Regions from separate parts of the Homo sapiens genome. Here region 1 is linked to region 2. Evidence: promoter capture Hi-C in 16 types of primary human blood cells and fetal thymus (Javierre and others, 2016). All regions are on one chromosome and are shown on one strand. Each heading gives the region's core, a stretch centred on a gene start or on the middle of the fragment in contact. The rest is flanking DNA. Distances are from core to core; before and after follow the strand shown. Region 1 holds the start of SRSF8 (serine and arginine rich splicing factor 8). Region 2 holds the start of TAF1D (TATA-box binding protein associated factor, RNA polymerase I subunit D).

Region 1 (5,827 bases), core at 298-2,797, 1.3 Mb before region 2:
CGTAGCTGCGGCTCCGCCGTCCGTAGCCGCCGCCTCTGGACCTGCCGCGTGGCTCTCCCTGGCGGCTGCGGGGCAGGTCCCGGCGGCCATAGCGCGCCACCTGCACCCGCAGCTCGCGTCCGTCCAGCTCCGCCCCGTCCATGGCGGCCTCGGCGTCTTGGGCGTCGCGCCGGTCGTGAAAGCGGACGAAAGCGAAGCCCCGGGGCGCCTTGGTGTGGGGCTCCCGCGGGATGTACACGTCGCCCACGCGCCCGTACTTCTCGAACACGCGCCTCAAGCTGTCGGGAGAGGTGCGGTAGGTCAGGTTGTCCACCTTGAGGGTGATCATGCCGTCCACGTCGGGAGGGGGGCGGCCGCAGCTCATGGCTCCGAGAGCAGCCCGGGCCCGGAAACTGGCGCTGCTCTGGGCGCTGACGGTGCGACCTGCGTTTCTTTCTCGCGGTTGCGCCCCGCGTGGGGACGCCGGGAAAGGCCGGGCGGAGAGGCGGGCGGCGGAGCTCCGCAGGGAGCGCCCTGGAGCAGCAACTTCCGAGTTCCCAATTTCAGGCCAAATACTCCAGGACCCAGAGGAAGGTTTCCTTTTGGTAGCTGAACTCCAAATGAAGCCAGGCCCCGAAGATCCTGGCCTTGTACCTGGGCAACATCCTAACCTAATCAGCGCCCAGCTAATGTAATCACTGGGCTGGATTTACATTAGACGTCCCACCCTCCCATGCTCCTCCCTATTATTCTACGTTTTAAACCAATCTTAAGAACAAAGCTAACTGATTAAAGGTCAATTTATGGGAACAGGCAATCCAGACAAATATTAAACAAAAGAAACCTAGGGCAACAATATTAATATCCAGTGTATTGATAGGATCAAAGGAGCACATTTCATAGTTATTGAAAAGAAAATTCACTAGGAAAACATTACAGTGATGAACTTAACGCACCTAAACACATAACAGTGACACATAGCCAAGACTGAGAGTTATAAGGTAAAACTGAAAAATCTGCACTCATGATGGAAGTTTGTTTTTTCCCCGTAACACCGTTTTCTCAGAAATCAATAGTGCAGAGAACAAAACTAGTAATGCTATAATAATTTGCACAACAAACAACAATTTTGATCATATAACCTGCAACAACCAAAAATATATAGAAAACAGAAGAATTTCCCAATACAAGACTACAAAATAAATGTCAATTAAAATTTAATAGGTCAATAAATTCAGCACATCTGGACCTCAGTGAAATAATATTGAAGGTTAAAAATAAAAAACCTGAATCCAATCATATTTACTTGAAAATTAATAACCACATTTCTAAAACTTTTTTTATGTTGAAGTCAAGCAATTAGTAAAACAAAACCAAAACAAAAAATAAAACATTAAAATAAAAATAGAATTACAAATAAAAGGGACAATATGTTTTTTTAAAAAGATGATTAATAAAACTGAAATCTAACACTTTTAAAGAAAAAAACAATCTAGCAATACTGATGAAGAAATACAGTTTCTAAATCTGGAAAGGAAATATACAGAAAGGGCCTAGAGCATCTTGGAGTGCTGGAAAATAAGGATGTGATAAATAGAAAACAAACAAAAGCATTGATGGGGTAATTTTAGAGGGGTACAAAAACCAATAAAACAGCTCCCAATGGCCAAATCTTGAACAATTTAAGGAACAAACTAAAATACTACTATATCATATTCCAAAATATAAAATAAATATTAATCTGTGCTGTTGTAAATAAATGATTAAATAAATTAACACATTGGAGAAAAGAGAGAAAACTCCTCTGCAGGAGAATTCTAAATTAATTAAATTAATTAAAACGTTGCTGATTTTGAAAATGTTATGTAACCTTATATACATAGAATTGTGCTTTTTATATTTTAATGTATTTTGTGTTTTATTTCCCTCATCTATGTGTTCCATGTAGCTGTACTTGATCCTGTTACCTTGCCGTAAGGCATTCAATGGTATAAATGTTTGTGCTGTTGATGGGCACTTGGGTTGTTTCCACTTTTGGCCTCTTACAGTGTTGCTCAGAACATGCTTGGACATGTATACTGGAGCTCATGTGTCCTCTTAGGTATGAATGGATCCCTTGTCACAGAATACAGGCAGCCCACTGTAACCTCTGGCTTCAGCATCAGTGAATTCAGCCAACTGTGGGTAGAAATTATTCAGAAAAAAAAAACAATAAAAATAAATAGAACATAATACAGTAAACAATTATTTACATAGCATTTTCATCATAATGTAAGTAATCTAGAGATGACTTAAAGTATGTTGGAAAATACGTATAGGTTACATGCTCATACCAAGCCATTTTATATATGGACTTGAAAATCCTCAGAATCCTCAGGGGTTACTAAGGACCAAACCCCATCCACCTGCAGAATATCAAGGGACAACTGTATGTGAATTCAAACTTTACCATGCCTGATTGTTTTTCAACAGTTTTTATCAATTTACACACAGGATAGCTGTGTATGAGGGTGCTCAGTGCTCTTCACTTTTGCAAACCTTTGGTGAATATCAGACTTTTTAGTTTTAGCCAGTTAGGTGAGGGCATTAAGATTTGTTTTACCTGTGATTTCGTCCCCACACAACAGCCTGGGGTGACACAGTGAGATTTTGTCACTTAAAACTTAAAAAAAAAAAATTCATTTCCCTAACTGCAAATGAGAGTGAGTAATTTTTTCACGTTCATTGGCCATTTGGGTATTCTTACTCATAAGCTGCCTATTATGTATTTTGTCCATTTTTCTATTGGGTTGGCGTTCTCTGCACTAGCTCTTTATATATAATGGATATCAGCTCTTTGCTGGATATGAGTAATACAATATCAGTTCACACTCCTTGGTTTGTCATTTCTCTCTTTTTTTCATATCTTTTGATGAACAGAAGTCCCTCTTTATTTCTAATAGTAAAATATTATTTAAAATAGCTAACATACCTGGTGACTATAACATGGCAAACACTGTTCGGTTTACTCTTGGTACAATAAATCATTTAATTCTTATGACCTATAAGAAGATTCATACCTCTAATTTTCAGATGACAGAACTGAGTCATTGAGACATTAAGTCACTTGTTCAAGGCGGTAGAGCTAGCACTGTTAGAGTCAAATATTTAAATGACAACCCCCAAAATGATGCCTTAAAACAAAAAAAAGACTTCTCCCTTATCAAACTGTAATATTTGAGCTGATATCAACAGTACCTCTAAGCACAGATACTGAGACCAGACACAGATACATGTACAGTTGACCCTGGAACAATGAGGGGATTCAGGGTGCTGAATCCCTGTGCAGTTGAAACTCCTCAAATACTTTTGACTCCTCCCAAAACTGAACTACTAAGAGCCTGCTGTTGACTGGAAGTCTTACAGATATCAACGGTTGATTAACACAGATTTTGTATGTGACATGTACTAAATACTGGATTCTTACAGTAAAGAAAACTAGAGAAAAGAAAATGTTTTTAAGAAAATCATAAGGAGGAGAAAATGTATTTACTATACTGTACTATATTTATGGATACCTTAACCATTTACAAGATGAATAGCCTGTCTGAAATGGCTGGCAACCTCACTGCAGACCTCAATGTACCCTACACATCAAGCAATTCAACATTTTCTTATACTGTCGTGACTTTTCTCTGCTTCTTGGGAACATTTCCAGCATCACTAGTGGCACTTCGTCTGGGCCCCATAGTATTATTCAAGCTTTAGGATATTGCCCTAAACATGATACTCAAGAGATCACTTTTTACTGTGATAGACAATTTACCAGAGAGAAAAAAATTGCTCAGGCAGAGATGATTAGCATCCTGCAGCATTTTAAGAGGATACTCACCACACGAGCTCACTGCAATGGCAAAAGGAAGAGGCTACAAAATTCTTATAATAATACAGTATTACTATAGTTAATTTTATGCAGTTATGATTTAATACTATATCTTTACATTTGTTTACATTTATCTCAACTTCAAATGGCATTATGTATGGTCTGTGTGTGTGTGTAAATTCTGATAAATTTTAACTTTTTGTAACAGGATTGTACATATTTTATGGTAGCAAATGTTAAAATACACTAATATCTATACATATTTTATGCATTCATGACACACCTAATTTTTTCTTATATTTTTCAATATTTCTAGAGTACAAGATACATCTGGGAGTTTTTTCAAATTGTTCTAAATCTCCAAAAAATTTACCAATACGGTTGTGGAAAAAAAAAATCCCTGTATAAGTGGACCCATGCACTTCATTTGTTCAAGGCTCAACTGTATATGTGGGAGTCTGTATATAATAAAGGTGGCTTACCAATCCCATGAAAAGCAATCAACAATTCAATAAGAGATATTGATCTTGGGGGGAAAAATAAAATAGAGCTCTACCGTGCACTACTTAGAAGAGTAAATTAGTGATGGATTAAAGACTGTATAAAAGAGAACTTTAGGGCTATTTGAGAATATACTGAAAAATGTGTTTATGAATTCAAGGTGGGAAAATTATCTTAAAGAAGAGCCAAAAGCACAAACCACAATGAAAATTTCTGACATATTTAACTCATTCCAGTATATGATGACATAAAAAATTGAGACAAGATACAGGCTGGAAGAACAGTTTTGTCATATGTAAAATAGACAATGAATAAGTATCCTGAAAACTTCCACAGATCAATAAAAACAATGAGTCAACCCAAAAGAAGGGATCGAAGCCTTAGAAAAGGCAACTCAAAAAAAAAGGAAATCCAAATGGCCAATAAATATGAGGAGATGTATAAGATCACTAGTAATTGAGAAAATGCATTGAGACACTTTTTCTCAATTTAAATTAGAAAAAGTGAAACGATCTGACAGTGTAAAAATGGGCCAAGATATGGGGAAACCAGAACTGTCCCACTGCTAATGGAGATAGAAATTGTAGACTGACCTAGCTATTCTTAGAATAATTGAAAACAAATATCAGTATAACCAAGGAACTCCAGTTCTATGCACACAGCTGTTCAAGAAAGTGTTGTTTGACATAACAAAGATGTGGAAATAATCTACATGTCCATCAGCAGGGGAATGAATAAAATAAAAAATTACACAGGTCTATTGACTCTGTTGGAGTCACTAGGATCTATATACGTAGCAATCTGTTCAGGCCTTGTAATATTGAGTTTTTAAATAGGTAGCAGGAGGAAGAGAAGTTGTTAAAACCAAACCTGACATATCATCTTGGCTCTGTAGACTTCCGACTATAAACAGGAAGAATATGCATCAAACTCATAATTGTTATTTCTCAGAAATGAAGAGAAGCCTTCAGAAATGAAGGAACAGAGGTCATGGGAGAGGACAAAGATGGCTCTACACTTGCTCTTAGATAATTTTCATTATCAATGTTCCTTGATTTTCCAAAACAAAACAGTACAGAATAGCAAAAGCTTATGATTGGACATGGGCAAACAGCTAGATATGGGCAAATTTTACAAAGAAGAGTGACCCAAATTGAGATTGTCAGATGAAGTAACATAGAATTCTAATTACAATTGCTTGAAGAAGCCCTCCACAGCCACCCCTAACTCCCTGAACTTTCCAGAAGACTAATTTAGAAACAAGTTTAGCTGTACTATTGCTTGCTCTTATTTGGCAAGAGAATGTAAAATATTTATGAAAGTAGCTGAATAGAAACAGGAGGACAATAGGAGTAATATTTTCTACAAATTATTTGTGTGTTTATGTTTCTTTTCTTTTACTATCCAAGATTTTTTTTAATGATAGCCATTCCAGGGCATCTATCTGGCTAGGATAAGATTGTGATGCTGCTGAAGATAACAAGC
Region 2 (5,779 bases), core at 2,746-5,245:
AATCAAGGTTTAAGGGATTTAGGGCTGTGCAGGATGTGCCTTGTTAACAATATGTTTGCAGACTGTATGCTTGGTAAAAGTCATCGCCATTCTCCATTCTCTATTAACCAGGGACATGATGCACTGCAGAAAGCTGCAGGGACCTCTGCCCAAGAAAGCGTGGGTATTGTCCAAGAATTCCCCCCACTGAGACAGCCTGAGATATGGCCTCGTGGGAAGGGAAAGACCTAACCGTCCCCCAGCCTGACACCCATAAAGGGTCTGTGCTGAGAAGGATTAGTAAAAGAGGAAGGCCTCTGTTTCCCGCATATCCCTGGGAACAGAATGTCTCCGTGTAAAGCCGACTATTCGTTCTATTCTGAGATAGGAGAAAACCACCCTGTGGCTGGAGGGGAGATATGCTGGCAGCAATACTGCTCTGTTACTCTTTGCTACACTGAGATGTTTGGGTAAAGAGAAACATGAATCTAGCCTACTTACACATCTGGGCACAGTACCTTCCCTTGAACTTATTTATGACGCAGATTTCTTTACTCACATGTTTTCCTGCTGACCTTCTCCCCACCATCACCCTGTTCTCCCACCGCAGTTCCCTTGCCGAGATAGTGAAAAGTAATCAATAAATACTGAGGGAACTCAGATACCAGTGCCGGTGCAGGTCCTCGCATACTGAGTGTGCCCGTCCTCTGGGCCCACTGTTCTTTCTCTATACTTTGTGTCTTATTTATTTTCTCAGTCTCTCTTCCCACTTGACGAGAAATACCCACAGGTGTGGAGGGGCAGGCCCCCTTCAGTTTTGGGTTGAATAATTTATAATTGTTCAGGAATGAGACAGTTTAACTTTTTCTTTTAAATAATTTCAGATTGACAAATATTACATACAAATAATTCCTATACATTCTTCACCCAGATTTCCCAAATGTTAACATTTTATCACATTCTTTATCAAGCAAACATTGGGTACTAACTTATTTATGAACATGTCAAAATCTGCACAATGAATAGTATATTCATTTATAATGATAAAAACACTTTACATATTTTTGCTGGCAGTAGGAATAAGAACACAAGTTAAAATCCAAATGTAATCTTAATTTTATTCCCTTTATTATCTCTTTAGTAAAAAGTTAGGTCAGTTGTTTCCGTTTATTTATGTCCCTACCAAAGTAGAAACAAAGTCCAATCTTGGGAGGATGTAGCTTGAATAACTGGTTTAGAAATGTACTTATTAGGGGTACTTATTAGGGATTAGTGGATAAGTGCTTAAATGGTTGTGGATAACAGTGCATATAGGACTCTCAAGTATTTCTATAACAGACACTTGTGCGTTCTACTCTATATTTGACATTTAGACAAAAAAATCAAATGAGTTCCTTAGACTATCACTTTTTCATAATAAAATTTAAATTATGAAGGCCCGTCCAATTCTAAAATGATGTGAACTTCAGGCAGGCTGATGGCACAGCAGGCAGTGTGGTAGCATGTGTATGTGAGTGTTTATGTGTGTGTTGGAGGTGGGGAGAGGGTTACAGTTGGAGCTGAGAAAGGAGTTAGGTTCTCACATAAACTCCAGGAATACAGCCTTGGGCCAGATGGAGGCAAACAGTATTTTCCTGCCTAATTGGTGGGAGTCGATGGCCCAGAAATAGGGTCTAGAAGGGAAACGGAGCTGCAGAGGTTAACACCTGGAGGGGTAGACCAACTATCGCAACTAAACTGGTTACCATTTGAGTGCACACTATATACCAGACACCGTTAGACACTGTGCAGACGTTCTCTCAAAACTTTTCACAACCATGACAGGTTGTAAGACAGGCTGTGGGTCTTCAGGGGTCGCGGGCATCCCCTAGACACAGCCGCAGGGCCTGCATGGAGTTCGCTCCTACCGGCGACCAAAAGCGCTCGCTCCGGCTCCAGCATCTGCTCACCCCCACGCACCCTCCCATAAAGGGTGGAGCGCAGCAGGCCTGGGTGACTGGAGTTCGTGGCTTCCAGCACTCCAGTTCCCGCCTCATTCACTCGCGCCCCCCCTCCCGCGAGGAGTTGAGAGCCGTGGGCTAAGTAAGTGAGGCACCGCAGCCGCAAGACCCACGAAGGGGTCAGAGGAATATCCTGCTTCAACTGCACTCCAGCCTGGGTGGCAGAGCAAGACCCTGTCTCTATAACACAAACAGAGAAATACCAAATGTGGCCGGGCGCGGTGATTCACGCCTGTACTCCCAGCACTTTGGGAGGCCGAGGCAGACGGATCACTTGAGGTCAAGAGTTCGAGACCTGCCTGGCCAACATGGTGAAACCTGGTCTCTACTAAAAGTACAAAAATTAGCCGGTTGTGGTGGCGGGCGCGTGTAGTCCCAGCTACTTGGGAAGCTGAGGTGGGTGGATCTCTTGAGCCCGGGAGGTGGGGGTTGCAGTGAGCTGAGATCGGGCCACACTGCACTCCAGCCTGGGCGACAGAGCGAGACTCTGTTTCTAAAAAAAAAAAGAAAAAAGAAAAAATACAAAATGAAATGTGAAATTTCAATGATTCTGCATTAGGAGTTAAATGTTCCTTCCCTTTAATAGCACTTTTCCCCTTCTTTTTGAACAAGGGACGCTGCATTTTCATTTTGCATTGAGCCTCACAAATTACACAGCTAGGCTTGCTGCTGAATACGGCAGTGAGGGACATGCCATACCAGTCCTGGAGCTTCGTCATTGCCCAGACCCTGTGGATCAAATGCAGTGGGCTGCCTAAAGGATCGGACTTTTTATCCCCGGAATTGTCCAAACTATGGAGCAAAGCAGGTAAAGAGACCAGATTACTTTTAAGGCCCGTTCAATCCTAAAATGTGAACTATAAAATAAGACTAGACAGCTTTACTGATTTTTGTGGTTTATCATATGAAAACAGAATTTTGAAAGCGGAAAAATCAAACCAGTTCATTCCTTTTTAAAATTACTTTGGGAGGCCGAGGCGGGAGGATCACCTGAGGTCGGGAGTTTGAGACCAGCCTGACCAACATGGAGAAACCCCCGCCTCTACTAAAAATGCAAAAATTAGCTGGGCATGGTGGCGCACGCCTGTAATCTCAGCTACTGGGGAGACTGAGGCAGGAGAATCGCTTGAACCCGGGAAGCAGATGTTGCGGTGAGCCAAGATCGCACCGTTGCACTCCAGCCTGGGCAACAAGAGCGAAACTCGGTCTCAAAAAAAAAAAAATTACTTTGGGAGAAAAAAACCCCACCAAAACTAAACTAGTTTACACTGTTTAATCTTAACTCAGGAACCGGTCAAGGAACTAATGGTGTGGGGCAGGGGGGATGTAGGAGGAAACTTAGGAAAAACAAATCCTCCACAGGTCTCACTTGTGACATGTTAGCCAACTCCTGGGAGGCAGAAAGGGTGAGCTTACGAAACAGGTGCAAAAGTGGGGAGGAGACCTGGGCGTGCTATGGAATAACACTGGCGTCCAGCACAAAGGTTACACACTTCGAGTCATGGTCAAAGAATGAGCCTTCTCCAATATTTTAACACACAAGGGTTTCTGAAGGCAGAAATAGACAAAGGATTACAAAACACTCAGGCACACATCCCACCCGTCACCCTCGCCACACACCCGGGACCAGATTTAGAAAGCCAGGCGACAGCTCAGCAAACGCGAGACCACCGGAAACGAACCGGGCTGAGAGGCTGTTTCCTCACAGTTCTCATCCACTCACAAGTGACCGCACGTTTTGTTTTTGTTATTTGCCGAAATGTTCTTGGCTATTCCACTCACCTAAACGGTCACGGTAGCAAAACACCCAGAGTCCGGATCTTCGCCTAGGCCAACCCCGCCTCCTCAGAATACGCGAGCTAGAGCTCCGCCCACGTTAGTCAGTCCTCCCTGCGCGGCGAGAAAAATGGCGCCCCCACGTCGCGTCTCCTCCCACCGCTCGCCTTCTTCCCGGAAGCTAAGTTGTATCGCGAGATTTCGGCCTGACTATTACTTGGGCCACGGAAATAGCCAACCCTTTTCTTCCGCACGGTTGGAGGAGGTCGGCTGGTTATCGGGAGTTGGAGGGCTGAGGTCGGGAGGGTGGTGTGTACAGAGCTCTAGGACACCAGGCCAGTCGCGGGTTTTGGGCCGAGGCCTGGGTTACAAGCAGCAAGTGCGCGGTTGGGGCCACTGCGAGGCCGTTTTAGGTAGGTTGCTAAGAGGGCGAGGCCGTCCGGGCCTGGCGGGCGGGGGAGGCGTTGCATATCTGGGGTTTCCCGGGGCCCCTTCGTTGGTCCGGAGGATCGAGACTCCGAAGTCGGTCCGAGAGGGTGAAGGGATCACGGCCGCAGGCCACTCCGCGCCACGCGGCTGGTATGAGTCCCACACAAACGTGGTTGTAGTGTGGACGGGCTTCATTATATCTTGAGATGGAGGTGTTAAATCGTGTTGCGGACAAGTTTAACCTTATTACGTGATTTAAATGATTTAACCTTCGTATGTGAGGTACCCATTACTCGCGCCGGTTTTCTGCAGGTTAGGCGCTGCCGGGTGAGAGGCGCTGGTGGTCACAGCGTTAGCTCCGGGTAAAGCGCCGCTCTCTGCCCACGTGGCCTCTAAGAATTGCAGAATCCCCACGGAGGCATCGACACCCAAGTAGGAGTGTCTTCTAAACACTTCGAAAAAGTGATTATTGAGCTAGCTTTATTTTGATAATCCCTACTTTTAAAAAAAATTAACTACAGGTATACCGTTAAAGCATGGGGGCAAATTTTTGTTGAATTCCGTTTTTGAGCATTCGATATTTAATGACTTTGTAGAATCTTGTACTTAAAAAAACTAGTAAGACCTTGTACCAGGAAAATACCACAGGGGGCATTTAACAAATCTGAGCTCTTGGTGACCTTATCGTTTCATATTTTAAATATTTTGCTAGTTCATCCTAGGATTTATATGTAATGACTCATGTCAGGTCCCAAGAAGCTACAGAATGAGACAAGAGATTGACTAAGGCATGTACAATAATGAAATAAGTAGTTATCTTTAATTTTTGTTGCCATGCCTTTTTTTTTTTTTTTTTTTTTTTTTTTTTTTTTCCTGAGACAGGGTCTTGCTCTGTCGTCCAGGCTGGAGTGCAGTGGTGCAATCTCGGCTAACAGCAACCTCCACCGCGGCTTAAGCGATCCTCCCGAGTGGCTGGGAGCAAAGGCACGGGCCAACACACCTAGCCAGTATTTTAAGAATTTTTTGTAGAGACAAGGGTCTCCTTGTGTTGCTGAGGCTCACTACATACAAGCTCCACCTCCCAGGCTCAGGTATTCCACCTACCCCAGCCTCCTGACCACAGGCGCGCGCCACTATTCTGGCTAATTTCCGTATTTTTTGTAGAGACGGAGTTTCACCACGTTGCCCAGGTTGGTCTTGAGCTCCTGGGCTCAAGCGATCCGCCCGCCTCGACCTCCCAAAGTGCTGTGTTACACAGGCCTGAGCCACCCAGACCAACCTGTTTTTCTTTTTTCTTTTAGCTCACAAGAAGGAATCTTTTTCTTTTTTTTTTTTTTTTTTTTTGGTATGTTGTATACTCTCTACCATGGGGATGAAGACACAAGAATTATGATAGTTCATTGAAAAAGGTTGAGAATTCAGAACTTGTCAGTTTCCACCAATAATGGCAAAGATACAATATGACAAAGTTCAGTTGCTTAAATGAATCTAGGAATGAAGAATCTAGGAATTATAATGGAGAGGTGATTAGGAGTTTAAAATGGTTTATTGATTGGAGATCCTTTTCCTGGTTTATATAGGGCACACTTTGCTTT

What was found. Contacts are between HindIII fragments. The CHiCAGO score rates a contact against its expected background, and 5 or more counts as called.
Region 1: a contact is called between a fragment that was not itself captured here and the fragment with the promoter of TAF1D in region 2, in 1 of 17 cell types (total CD8 T cells). The highest score is 6.4, in total CD8 T cells.

Annotation. Positions count from the first base shown.
Region 1 is chr11:95,061,764-95,067,590 of GRCh38, reverse strand. SRSF8 (serine and arginine rich splicing factor 8) reads right to left here and starts at 672. Exons shown (of 1, transcript NM_032102.4): 1 at 1-672. The coding sequence starts at 364. RefSeq lists enhancers at 177-366, 91-848 and a silencer at 617-696. The HindIII fragment of the contact is 4,351 bases long and covers 1-3,722 here.
Region 2 is chr11:93,739,711-93,745,489 of GRCh38, reverse strand. TAF1D (TATA-box binding protein associated factor, RNA polymerase I subunit D) reads left to right here and starts at 3,995. Exons shown (of 6, transcript NM_024116.4): 1 at 3,995-4,168. C11orf54 (chromosome 11 open reading frame 54) reads right to left here and starts at 3,818. Exons shown (of 9, transcript NM_001286069.2): 1 at 3,762-3,818. RefSeq lists enhancers at 2,066-2,605, 3,126-3,245, 3,012-3,697, 3,826-4,335. The HindIII fragment of the contact is 24,379 bases long and covers 1-5,779 here.